Regions from separate parts of the Homo sapiens genome. Here regions 1, 2 and 4 are each linked to region 3. The links are contacts of gene promoters, found by promoter capture Hi-C in blood cells and fetal thymus (Javierre and others, 2016). All regions are on one chromosome and are shown on one strand. The core of a region is centred on a gene start or on the middle of the fragment in contact, and the rest is flanking DNA. Distances in the headings are between cores, read along the strand shown. Region 1 overlaps CLMP (CXADR like cell adhesion molecule). Region 2 holds the start of SNORD14D (small nucleolar RNA, C/D box 14D). Region 3 holds the start of GRAMD1B (GRAM domain containing 1B). Region 4 overlaps CLMP (CXADR like cell adhesion molecule).

Evidence for each region. The method cuts DNA at HindIII sites, captures the fragments that hold promoters and counts their contacts. A CHiCAGO score of 5 or more calls a contact.
Region 1: a fragment that was not itself captured here is called in contact with the fragment with the promoter of GRAMD1B in region 3 in 2 of 17 cell types (fetal thymus and endothelial precursors); the score reaches 12.3 in fetal thymus.
Region 2: a fragment that was not itself captured here is called in contact with the fragment with the promoter of GRAMD1B in region 3 in 1 of 17 cell types (fetal thymus); the score reaches 5.3 in fetal thymus.
Region 4: a contact is called between a fragment that was not itself captured here and the fragment with the promoter of GRAMD1B in region 3, in 4 of 17 cell types (fetal thymus, M0 macrophages, M2 macrophages and 1 more). The highest score is 10.0, in fetal thymus.

The regions. Positions count from the first base shown.
Region 1 is chr11:123,085,435-123,088,750 of GRCh38, reverse strand. All of the region lies in intron 2 of CLMP (CXADR like cell adhesion molecule), which reads left to right. Among named protein-coding and RNA genes, the nearest start is that of HSPA8, 25 kb to the right of the region's middle. The HindIII fragment of the contact is 2,767 bases long and covers 369-3,135 here.
Region 2 is chr11:123,058,199-123,061,316 of GRCh38, reverse strand. HSPA8 (heat shock protein family A (Hsp70) member 8) reads left to right here. Exons shown (of 9, transcript NM_006597.6): 2 at 1-197; 3 at 519-724; 4 at 1,049-1,201; 5 at 1,289-1,844; 6 at 2,056-2,258; 7 at 2,487-2,685; 8 at 2,833-3,065. It overlaps SNORD14D (small nucleolar RNA, C/D box 14D), which reads left to right and starts at 2,322; the gene lies at 2,322-2,408. SNORD14C (small nucleolar RNA, C/D box 14C) reads left to right here and starts at 1,895; the gene lies at 1,895-1,982. The HindIII fragment of the contact is 172 bases long and covers 1,771-1,942 here.
Region 3 is chr11:123,428,618-123,431,804 of GRCh38, reverse strand. GRAMD1B (GRAM domain containing 1B) reads right to left here and starts at 1,536. Exons shown (of 20, transcript NM_001387025.1): 1 at 639-1,536. The coding sequence starts at 1,012. It overlaps LOC124902776 (a long non-coding RNA gene), which reads left to right and starts at 591. Exons shown (of 2, transcript XR_007062928.1): 1 at 591-858; 2 at 2,989-3,187. RefSeq lists silencers at 909-958, 1,069-1,398. The HindIII fragment of the contact is 5,032 bases long and covers 1-3,187 here.
Region 4 is chr11:123,104,364-123,107,532 of GRCh38, reverse strand. The region is part of intron 1 of CLMP (CXADR like cell adhesion molecule); the gene reads left to right. Among named protein-coding and RNA genes, the nearest start is that of HSPA8, 44 kb to the right of the region's middle. The HindIII fragment of the contact is 4,616 bases long and covers 1-3,169 here.

The DNA.
Region 1 (3,316 bases), core at 503-3,002, 340 kb after region 3:
GAGAGGCTGAGACAGGAGAATCGCTTGAACCCAGGAGGCGGAGGTTGCAATGAGTGGAGATTACGCCACTGCACTCCAGCCTGGGCAACAAGAGTGAAACTCCATCTCAAAAATAAATAAATAAAATAAACAAGAAAGAAATTCCAAAGCTCTCAGGCCAAAAAGGTCACCCACCTGTCAAAGCCCACAAAACCCCAAAGTTCCTAAAAATTACCCAGTGCTTCACTGTCTTGTAGGTTTTGCCTCTCTTCATTCTCCTAGAAAGTACAAACTGACTTCATTGTAGGTGATTATGCATCTGGGGGAAATATGGACAAATCAGAAAGAAAGAGAAACATTAACAGAGCACCTAGTAAGTGTTCCAAGCTTACCTGCCTTATCTCCAGGTGTAAGGCCCCCTTACTTTCAGTCTTTGAATGGAGACAAACTCTACAGCTTCCAGTTTTTTCCTGTTGTGAACGCATTTCCTTCTTTTCCAACTATCCCAGCAATTTTGCATTACTAAGTCAGCTCTATCACCTGCCAAGAAACCTACCCTTCCAGCTGGGCATGGTGGCTCACACCTGTAATCCCAGCACTTTGGGAGGCCGAGGCGGGCAGATCACCTGAAGTCAGGAGTTCGAGACCAGCCTGACCAACGTGGAGAAACCCCATCTCTTCTAAAAATACAAAATTAGCTGGGCCTGGTGGCACATGCCTGTAATCCCAGCTACTCAGGAGGCTGAGGCAGGAGAATCACTTGAACCCGGGAGGCGGAGGTTGTGGTGAGCCAAGATCATGCCATTGCACCCCAGCCTGGGCAAAAAGAGTGAAACTCCGTCTCAAAGAAAAAAAAAAAAGAAACAAAACGAAACCTACCCTACAGAGTACAACAGGATGTGGGGCCAACAACACCCTACAAACATTTTTCTGTTTTGTTTTGTCTTGTTTTGAGGCAGAGTCTCACTCTGTCCCTAGGCTGGAGTGCAGTGGCATGATCTTGGCTCACTGGAACCTCTGCCTCCTGGGTTCCAGCGATTCTTCTGCCTCAGCCTCTTTAGTAGCTGGGACTACAGGCATATGCCACCACACCCAGCTAATTTTTGTATTTTTAGTAGAGACAGGGTTTCACCATATTGGCCAGGATGGTCTCGATCTCTTGACCTCGTGATCCACCCGCCTCGGCATCCCAAAGTACTGGGATTACAGGCATGAGCCACTGCACCGAGCCGCAAATATTTATTTATTTCATTTTATTTTTTTGAGACAGAATCTTGTTATGTTGCCCAGGCTGGAGTGCAGTGGCATAATCTCCACTCACTGCAATCTCTGCCTCCCAGGTTCAAGTGATTCTGCTGCCTCAGCCTCCTGAGTAGCTGGGTTTACAGGCGCACACCACCACACCTAGTTTTTTCTTTCTTTCTTTTTTTTTTTGAGACGGAGTTTCGCTCTTGTTGCTCAGACTGCAGTGCAATGCCGTGATCTTGGCTCATTGCAACCTCCGCCTCCCGGGTTCAAGCAATTCTCCTGCCTCAGCCTCCCGAGTAGCTGGGATTATAGGCATGCGCCATCACGCCCGGCTAATTTTGTATTTTTAGTAGAGACGGGGTTTCACCATGTTGGTCAGGCTGGTCTTGAACTCCCAACCTCAGGTGATCTGCCCACCTCGGCCTCCCAAAGGACTGGGATTATAGGCGTGAGCCACCACGTCAGGCCACCTGTCTAATTTTTGTATTTTTTAGTAGAGACAGGGTTTCACCATGTTGGCCAGGCTGGTCTCAAACTCCTGACTTCAAGTGATCTGCTTGCCTTGGCGTCCCAAAATGCTGGGATTACAGTTGTGAGCCACCGCACCCAGTTACATTTTTTTCTTTTTTTAAATTTTATTTGTTGAGACAGGGTCTCACTCTGTCACCCAGGCTGGAGTACAGTGGCGCAGTCTTGGCTCACTATAGCCTCAACCTCCTGGGCTCAAGCAAACCACCAGCCTTGGTCTCCCAAAGTGCTTGGATTACAGGCGTGAACCACCACGCATCTGGCCCCCACAAATATTTAGAACAAACAAGTACCACATCCAGGAGAAGGGCTGTGATCCTAGCTCTTCCCCATCTGTGCCTAAAGCAGAGGGCTTTCCCTTGAGTGCTAGGAACCCCATGGAATTATCTGCAAAATAATATGTGAGTTTTTTCTGGGTCAGAGTTCATAGGTTTTATCTGATTGAGAGAACCTTCTCAGGAAAGGCTCTGAAGAGCTGTGGAGCAACACGTGATCAAAGGCAGGGTTGAGGGCTTGAGTGAAACAATTTGGAACAGCTGCAGCTGAAATGTGCCTGGGAGATGCCCATATGCTTGCATGCCTTTTTTAGTGCCCTTCTGTGTAGCTGGAATGCTCCCTCCAGGCCTTTTCTCCTTGCCTCTCAAAGCCTAGCTCAAATGCCACCAACTTGTCTGGGACACTCTCCTTGATACTATTTCAAATAAATCATTTCTTTTTCTCTGTTTAATAGTCTTTCCTTGTTAATCTCACTTGATTATAAATCACTTGAACCAAAGAAGAGATTTGCCAGGCGCAGTGGCTCACACCTGTAATCCCAGCACTTTGGGAAGCCGAGGAGGGTGGATCACCTGAGGTCAGGACTTTGAGACCAGCCTGGCCAGAATGGTGAAACCCCATCTCTACTAAAATAAAAAATTAGGGCCAGGCGCAGTGGCTCACACCTGTAATCCCAGCACTTTGGGAGGCTGAGGCAGGCAGATCATCTGAGGTCAGGAGTTCAAGACCAGCCTGGCCAACATGGAGAAACCCCAGCTCTACTAAAAATACAAAAATGAGCGAGTCATGGTGGCATGCATCTGTAATCCCAGCTACTCAGGAGACTGAGGCAGAAGAATTGCTTGAACCCAGGAGACAGAGGTTGCAGTGAGCCAGGATCGCACCATTGTACTCCAGACCGGGCGACAAGAGTGAGACTCTATCTCAAAAAAAAAACAAAAAAAAAAAAACATAAAAAATTAGTTCGGCTTAGTGAAATAGGGCAAAGGAAGCAATCAGATATGCATTTATCTCATGTGTGCAGAGGGGTAACTGTGAGTTCTGTCTGTCCTTTGTCCACAAGCAGTCACCTTGTGGGCAAATTGTGCAGGAGTACTGTAAGCTTTTTTTTTTTTTTTTTTTTTATCTTTGTAGCTATCTTATTTCTTATTCAGGAATAGAATGGAAGGCAGGCCAGGCGTGGTGGCTCATGTCTGTAATCCCAGCACTTTGGGAGGCCAAGGAGGGTGGATCACCTGAGGCCAAGAGTTCAAGACCAGCCTGGCCAACATGGCGAAACCCTGTC
Region 2 (3,118 bases), core at 607-3,106, 370 kb after region 3:
GGGACCTGCAGTTGGTATTGATCTTGGCACCACCTACTCTTGTGTGGGTGTTTTCCAGCACGGAAAAGTCGAGATAATTGCCAATGATCAGGGAAACCGAACCACTCCAAGCTATGTCGCCTTTACGGACACTGAACGGTTGATCGGTGATGCCGCAAAGAATCAAGTTGCAATGAACCCCACCAACACAGTTTTTGGTGAGTTCCTAATTTTAAATGACAGAACAAATATAACAGGGCTAGGAAGCACAAAAGTTTATGAAACGTGAGGAGGGAACTTTTTGATTTTAGAAAAACTGAGCTGAGAGACTTGTTATCAAGTCTGTTATAAAACAGGTTGTAGAAACCTTTCAGGCTGAAATCTGGATAACGTAGGAGGTTGAAGTTTGAACCTTTGCTACCTATATGGTAGTTGAATTCACCTACCTATGAACTGTTAGGTATTTGAGTAATCATGGACTTGAGTTTTATCAGAAGAGCTATGAAATTGAAAGTGTTTTCATTTGACACCTTTTACAGATGCCAAACGTCTGATTGGACGCAGATTTGATGATGCTGTTGTCCAGTCTGATATGAAACATTGGCCCTTTATGGTGGTGAATGATGCTGGCAGGCCCAAGGTCCAAGTAGAATACAAGGGAGAGACCAAAAGCTTCTATCCAGAGGAGGTGTCTTCTATGGTTCTGACAAAGATGAAGGAAATTGCAGAAGCCTACCTTGGGAAGGTGAGGTTGGTTTTTCAGTATGGGGTGCATTCCGGAGTAGTTAAAAGCCCGATGACTCCCGGGGGCACTGGCACCTGGCGAGGGAGGGGAACAGATGGGGCTCAGCTCAGGGTTAAGACCACGTGCCCAACAGTGCCCTAGGCTCTCTAGGTAGATGGGTCTGTCAACACCAGAAACCAGTGAATCTTGACAATTACACAGTAATTTACATTTTGGTGGGGGGGGTGCTCCAGCTGTTCTTTCACCAGCATTAATCCATTTGCTGGAGTTTGCATATATGTAAGTATAATAGTTACCAATCTGTGGTCTTTTCCTTATTCCTAGACTGTTACCAATGCTGTGGTCACAGTGCCAGCTTACTTTAATGACTCTCAGCGTCAGGCTACCAAAGATGCTGGAACTATTGCTGGTCTCAATGTACTTAGAATTATTAATGAGCCAACTGCTGCTGCTATTGCTTACGGCTTAGACAAAAAGGTATGTACCATTTGTGATGCAAGTTCGGATTATTTTAAGATTAATTTGATCCATCGTAAATTTAAATGAGATTGTTTTTAACGGCAGGTTGGAGCAGAAAGAAACGTGCTCATCTTTGACCTGGGAGGTGGCACTTTTGATGTGTCAATCCTCACTATTGAGGATGGAATCTTTGAGGTCAAGTCTACAGCTGGAGACACCCACTTGGGTGGAGAAGATTTTGACAACCGAATGGTCAACCATTTTATTGCTGAGTTTAAGCGCAAGCATAAGAAGGACATCAGTGAGAACAAGAGAGCTGTAAGACGCCTCCGTACTGCTTGTGAACGTGCTAAGCGTACCCTCTCTTCCAGCACCCAGGCCAGTATTGAGATCGATTCTCTCTATGAAGGAATCGACTTCTATACCTCCATTACCCGTGCCCGATTTGAAGAACTGAATGCTGACCTGTTCCGTGGCACCCTGGACCCAGTAGAGAAAGCCCTTCGAGATGCCAAACTAGACAAGTCACAGATTCATGATATTGTCCTGGTTGGTGGTTCTACTCGTATCCCCAAGATTCAGAAGCTTCTCCAAGACTTCTTCAATGGAAAAGAACTGAATAAGAGCATCAACCCTGATGAAGCTGTTGCTTATGGTGCAGGTAACAATGGTATCTCAATTAACCCTAAAGGCAGGCAGGCCCAAGGTGACTCGCTGTGATGAGTGATTGTTAAACATTCGTAGTTTCCACCAAAAGCTTGGCTAATGATGGCAACACCTTCCTTGGATGTCTGAGCGAGTGATAGTTAAAACAGGAGCTATGTACTGGGTTTTCTTTTAACTTCTTTTAACGTTAACTTTTTGTTTGCTAGCTGTCCAGGCAGCCATCTTGTCTGGAGACAAGTCTGAGAATGTTCAAGATTTGCTGCTCTTGGATGTCACTCCTCTTTCCCTTGGTATTGAAACTGCTGGTGGAGTCATGACTGTCCTCATCAAGCGTAATACCACCATTCCTACCAAGCAGACACAGACCTTCACTACCTATTCTGACAACCAGCCTGGTGTGCTTATTCAGGTATGTTTCTGTACTTCTCTTGTTTGGCTTACTGATAACAGATAAAGGGAAGTCTTGACTGACTCGCTATGATGATGGATTCCAAAACCATTCGTAGTTTCCACCAGAAAGTCTTATGTTGGCCAGTTCCTTCCTTGGATGTTTGAGCGACCATTCTTCCTTAGCAGGACCCTAGCACTGTCACAGACCTGGAGTCCATTGTAGTAATTTGTTTTATTTCCTACCAAGGTTTATGAAGGCGAGCGTGCCATGACAAAGGATAACAACCTGCTTGGCAAGTTTGAACTCACAGGCATACCTCCTGCACCCCGAGGTGTTCCTCAGATTGAAGTCACTTTTGACATTGATGCCAATGGTATACTCAATGTCTCTGCTGTGGACAAGAGTACGGGAAAAGAGAACAAGATTACTATCACTAATGACAAGGGTAAGGAGGCACTGTCATCTGGTCTTGACAGGGATAATGGTATTTCAATTGAGTTACTGGTGCCTAAGGGCGTCTAGCTAAGAGAAACTAGAGTTACACATACACAGGTAATTTAAGGCTTTTACTTAGAGTTAATTTCTTTCCTAGGCCGTTTGAGCAAGGAAGACATTGAACGTATGGTCCAGGAAGCTGAGAAGTACAAAGCTGAAGATGAGAAGCAGAGGGACAAGGTGTCATCCAAGAATTCACTTGAGTCCTATGCCTTCAACATGAAAGCAACTGTTGAAGATGAGAAACTTCAAGGCAAGATTAACGATGAGGACAAACAGAAGATTCTGGACAAGTGTAATGAAATTATCAACTGGCTTGATAAGAATCAGGTTTGTGTTTTTTTTTTTTTTTTTTCCTCCCCCACTCAATGGAGGGGAAGGGG
Region 3 (3,187 bases), core at 287-2,786:
TAGGCAAAAAACTAGCTGGTACAAACCACAGTCTTGTAGGTATCGATGTCTAAAGACTCTGATATGGTAGGAAATGTGACTCACTCAATGTCAATATTTCACTTCCACACAAGTGAGCCAGTTAAGGCAATCCGGTGTGGCCAAACATAAAATAAGATTGAAACGGAGTCCTGAAATATAAACCACTTAACTGTTCTCTGGCCTTTTACTATCTCCTTCTGTAGAAAGGGAGCCATAGTAATACCTACCTCAGAGAGTTTGCGTAGGGATGAAATCTGGAGGTACATGAAGTGCGCAACATAGTGGCCCGCACATGGTAAGGGCTCAATAACTATTAGCTGTTATTATTTTTATTATTTATTTCGCTGCGAGGATCAAGGGAGATGGAATGCAGCGTAAAGCCCCACGTAAACGTGTCGTGCAACATGAAGCCCCTCACCCTGAGTTGGGGAGCGGGTGGCACGCGTGGAAGCTGAATGCCACCATCCCTGGGACCAGGCGCAGCGCCCTCCAGAAGCGCCTCTGGTGACGGGCTCCTGTTCTCCCCCAGGACGTTTCCCCCAGAATGCCCCGGGGCCCTGGACGGCTCTGGAGAGGACGGGAGGGAAGGGAAGGAGACGGGCGGAACGGGGACGTACCTGCTTTCACTGCACTCCTTCCGCTCCCTCACCCTCAGCCACTTGCGGAGGAGGAAGCGTTTTCGGCGCGGGGACGCGCTGGGTGTGGAGCAGTTGGACCACGGGGTGTCCTCGTCGCTGGAGGGCGTGATCTCGATGGACGGCAGCTGCAGGAACTCCTTGCCGGGGGCCAAGACGGCGGGCAGGTCCCGGGCCAGCCCGGCCTCCAGGCTCTGCTCCTGTACGTTCTTCATGCGGCGCATCTTGAAGCGCCGGCGGCGAAGCGTGGGGGTCGACGAACTGGACCAGACCGGGCTGCCCTCGGGCGCACCCTGCGGCTCGGGCACCTGCAGGGCGGGCAGCGGCCGGTTCTCCATCATGTTGGCCGCCGGCATGGGGGCCGTCGCCTCTGCGCTCCCCCTGAGCCCTCCGCCAGCGGCCTGGTTCGCGTCTCCCTCTGGCTGTTCCCCACCCTCGGCCCCGCGGCACACTCCCCAATCCTGGGGCCGAAGGAACAAGTTCCTTTCCCGGAGCGCAGCGAGGAAGGGACGCGAGGGGACGCGGCGTAGCGCGCCGCCGCCCGGAGTCTAACTTTTCGGAGCGCGCGTCCTCCGGGCCGTCAGCCGCCGGCGAGGCCACCCGGGAGGGGCGGGAGCCGCCTGCCAGCCACTCGGCAGCCCTCCTGGGGCTCCCCTCGCGCGCCCGCTTGTTTTTCTTCCGCTGCGCTTCCTCGCTTGCTGGCGTCTTTGCCTTAGCGGGACTCGGCAGCCAGGGGCCCCAGGGGGCGGTGCAGCAAACTCTCAGCGGTTTGCGTTCAGCAGACCAGGTTGGGGAGCCGGCTTGGCGCTGCAGGGAGGTAGAGAGCGGGAGGAAGAGGCAGTGGTAGGAGGGAAAGGGAGAGAGAGACAGAGAGAGAGAGAGAGAGAGGAAGCGAGACACTGGATAAAAACAAAAAAGGAGGAGGAGGAGCGGGGGCTGGGGGCGGGGTGAGGGGGGCTATCCTGAATGGGCTAGCACTGGCAGCGACCGCTAGTGTAACTGTACACGGATTCCCTCGGGGAGGGACTCGACCTCCAAGTAAAGGCTGCTCCAATCAGCCTACTGAAATAGGATCACAAACCAAACTTTCTCAGGGCAACGATTGGCCAGGCAACTCCCATTAGTCGAACTCGGCTATTTCCTTGGGGGTGGGGGGTGCAGAGAAAGGGGAGTCAATGAATTCAGTCCTCACTCTCTCAGGCCACCCATGATACAGGGTTGAAGGAAAATGAGGAGACTTTTCAACTAGCTCTTGTCTCCTAAGAAAGGCAGTTTAAATTATTTGGGGGCGTGAGTAGTGGCACTGCAGGCCGGAGTATAGTCAGAGGAGGAAAGCAAGGTTGCTGGAGGCTGCTTCCAAAATGACAAGCTGAGAAGAGGACAGTTCTCCCGTGGCGGCGTGAGCTGAGGATACCAGACATGACATACCAAGGAAAGACAGACAACAGGGTCTGAGAGACAAAGGACACAGGACCAGTAAGGAAAATGGGGCCTGAACCCTGTACATGAGCCAGCTGCCAGTACCATAGCCGCGTCCCTAGCAAAGAATGAAATGAGGAGTCGGTGAGCACCCACAAAGCAATGCATCCAACAGAGCCCCAGGGAGTCGAGGGTACCCCCCCTTACATTGCTGAGGGCTGATTCAGTTCTGCTTCAGCCTGCCATGGACTGAGTCACAGAATCCAGTATGTCCCCATGTCATGGAACCTAGGAAGTCTGGTTCAGTCCTGGTAGCATCCCAAGATGTGCTGAACCACACTCACTCTCTAGACCCAGGCCCTAAGAGATCATCAACCCTAGAACCGATCCATCCTATTTAGGTGCTCTCTGTGGGCACTGAGTCTAACCCAGCCCAGCTCCTAGAGCAGGGCTGTAGCAGCCATTCTCCTCCTTCAACCCCAGCCCAATGCATTTGTCTCTTGGGTCAGTAACTGTTTTGTTTTGTTTTGTTTTTAAGAGACAAAGTCTCACTCTGTTGCCCAGGCTGGAGTGCAGTGGTGCAGTCATGGCTCACCGCAACCTTGAATTCCTGGGCTCAAGCTGTCCTCCCAGCTGAGCCTCCTGAGTAGCTGGGAGTACAGGTGCGCACCACCACACGCAGCTAAGTTTTATTTCTTTTTGTCGATATGAGGTCTTGCTATATTGCCCAGGCTGGTCTCAAACTCCTGGCCTCAAGTGATCTGCCCACCTTGGCCTCCCAAAGTGCTGAGATTACAGGCATGAGCCACCATGCCCAGCCTGGTCAGTAACTTTCAAAGAGATCATGAGAAGCACCCAAGAACATACCATGAAGTCCACAATCTGATCCACCCTTCTTTTCTGCCTCTCTCAGAGTCCAGTTTCCATCTGGGAGCCAATGCCCAGCTTCCGTGCCAGGACAAAAGTCACATTTCACAAGTGTCCCGAAGCTGAGGAAAATTCACATCCCTAAAGATCACAAGAATTCACTGCAAGTAAATACATCCCTGCAGTTCAGCAAGACATCAAGGATGACAGCTGGCTATGGATCTACCAAGCTCTGCAATGACACT
Region 4 (3,169 bases), core at 243-2,742, 320 kb after region 3:
TAGGTCAGGTGCGGTGGCTCGCACCTGTAATCCCAGCACTTTGGGAGGCTGAAGTGGGAGGATCACCTGAGGTCAGGACTTTGAGACCAGCCTGGCCAACACGGTGAAAGCCCATCTCTACTAAAAATACGAAAATTTGCCAGATGTGGTGGCATGCGCCTATAATCCCAGCTATTCACAAGGCTGAGGCAGGAGAATCGCTTGAACCCAGGAGGCCGAGGTTTCGGTGAGCTGAGATCACGCCACTGCACTCCAGCCTGGGTGACAGAGTGAGACTCCGTCTAAATTAAAAAAAAAAAATTTCATTAGCCAGGCATGGTGGTGAAAGCCTATAGTCCCAGCTACTTGGGAGGCTGAGGTGGGAGGATCACTTGAGCCCAGGGAGTTCAGGCTGCAGTGAGTTATGATTGTGCCACTGCACTCCAGCCTGGCAGAAAGAGCATCTGAGACCCTGTCTCAAAAAAAAAAAATGCAGCAAGTACAATTATTATTATTATTATTTTTTTTTTTTTTTGAGACGGAGTCTCGCTCTGTCGCCCAGGCTGGAGTGCAGTGGCTCAATCCGGCTCACTGCAAGCTCCGCCTCCCGGGTTCACACCATTCTCCTGCCTCAGCCTCCCGAGTAGCTGGGACTACAGGCGCCCACCACCTCGCCGGGCTAATTTTTTGTATTTTTAGTAGAGACGGGGTTTCACTGTGTTAGCCAGGATGGTCTCGATCTCCTGACCTCGTGATCCGCCCACCTCGACCTCCCAACGTGCTGGGATTACAGGCGTGAGCCACTGCACCCAGCCACAAGTACAATTATTAATAGTAGTTGCCATTTGCTGAGTGTGTGCTACATACCATGCGCCAGTGCTAGACACTTTCATGCATCATATGTAATGCTTACAATAACTTCCAAAGTTGATGTTTTTATTTTCCTTTTACGGAAAAGTAAACAACTTGGAGCAATCAGGGAATTAATTGGTCTTACAGCCACTACTCAAGTCCAGACCTCTCAGACTCCAAAGCTCATCCTCTTTCTATTGCATCATGCTGTGTCTTGAACTGCATACAGTGTTCCATAAACAATCTGGAAGGCAGGCACGTGCGCGCGCGCGCGCGCACACACACACACACACACACACACACACACACACACACACACCTCCTACAGAATTATATATGTAGCTGGGGTGAAGGGAAAACTTCCCGTCTGCCCGCTGAAGGTTCATTGAAAAGCACTGACAAGAGGCAGATTAATAGGAGAAAAGGCATACAAATTTAATAAACTGTTCAAGAGTGTCCAATCTTTTTGCTTCCCTGAGCCACACTGGAAGAAGAAGAATTATCTTGGGCCACACATAAAATACACTAACAACAGCTGATGAGCTAAAAAAAAAAATAGAATAAAATCACAATAAAATCTCATAATAGCAGGGCATGGTGGCTCACAGCTGTAATTCCAGCACTTCAGAAGTCTGAGGTGGGTGGATCACTGAGGTCAGGAGTTCGAGACCAGCCTGGCCAACATGGTGAAACCCCGTCTCTACTAAAAATACAAAAATTAGCCAGGCGTGGTGGCGTGGGCCTGTAATCCCAGCTACTCGGGAGGCTGAGGCACAAGAATCGCTGGAACCCGGGAGGCGGAGGTTGCAGTGAGCTGAGATTGCGCTACTGTACTCCAGCCTGGGTGACAGAGCAAGATTGTCTCAAAAAAAAAAAAACAAAAAACAAACAAACAAAAACCACAGTTCCTCCTGCCCATCTCTTTGAAGGGGGTCTTAAGGTTCAGGAGAATCTATGAGAAAATGTAAATACGGCTTGGCACAGTGGCTCACACCTATAATCCCAGCACTTTGGGAGTCCAAGATAGGCAGATCACCTGAGGTCAGGAGTTTGAGACAAACCTGACAAACGTGGCAAAACCCTGTCTCTACTAAAAATACAAAATTAACCAGGTGTGGTGGCGCATGCCTGTAATCCCAGCTATTCACGTGGCTGAGGCAGGAGAATCGCTTGAACCCAGGAGGCGGAGGTTGTGGTGAGCCAAGATTGTGCCACTGCACTCCAGCCTGGGCGACAGAGCAAGACTCCATCTCAAAAAAAAAGAAAGAAAGAAAAGAAGAAAGAAAGAGAGAGAGAGGAAGGAAGGAAGGAAGGAAGGGAGGGAGGGAGGGAGGGAGGGAGGGAGGGAAGGGAAGGAAATAAATGTAAATACCTTTTAGAGGATAAAACTTTAAACTACTCTTAATTGAGTGTAGGCAGCAGTCATGTGAGAAAAAGTCCCTTCTAGCAGAGATGAGCAGGGGAAGAGAACTAACATTTTAATGGGAGACTCCTATGTGCTTTCACAATGCTAGCTGCTTTCCTCAGTGTCTTCTTTAATTCCCATTTTGCGGATGGAAACACTAAGGCTCAGAAGGTAATTTTCTCAAGCTCCCAGAGGTCCTTTGATAAGTGCCTGAGGTGCATGCAAAAGCTCCCACTTAGGGAGAGCTTGCGGCTTCCCTGAAGGCATTCTGCCTGTGCCTAAGGAGGCAGTCCTTACCACTGCCACCACTCAGCACCTCTTCCCATAGGTAAATGCTGCAACAGAATCCTAGCAGAGACTATTCCCTTACTTGCAATTCTGCCACTAATTAGTTTTGTGACGTGACATCTCAATTCTCTGGGGTGCAATCTCCTCATAAGTTAAACTGATGATCTCTAAAGTCTTTCCTAACAAAGATGAATCTTCCAGTGCCCACGCAATCCAAGGCTAGCCACAGGATGGTCAGACTGCCCCTTTCCTCTCACCCATCAGATGGCAGACAAGCTCAGCAGCCCCCATGAGCACTGCTAAGCCTTGGAGTTAAAGACAGAGGCCGGACGCGGTGGCTCACACCTGTAATCCCAGCACTTTGGGAGGCTGAGGCGGGTGGATCATAAGGGGTCAGGAATTCGAGACGAGCCTGGCCAACATGGTGAAACCCCGTCTCTACTAAAGATACAAAAAATTAGCTGAGCATGGTGGCGCCTGCCTGTAATCCCAGCTACTTGAAAGGCTGAGGCAGGAGAATCGTTTGAACCTGGGAGGCGGAGGTTACAGCGAGCTGAGATGACGCCATTGCATTCCAGCCTGAGCAACAGGGCGAGACTCCGTCTGGGGAAAAAAAAAATAGAACCCAGGACCGGGCGCGGTGGC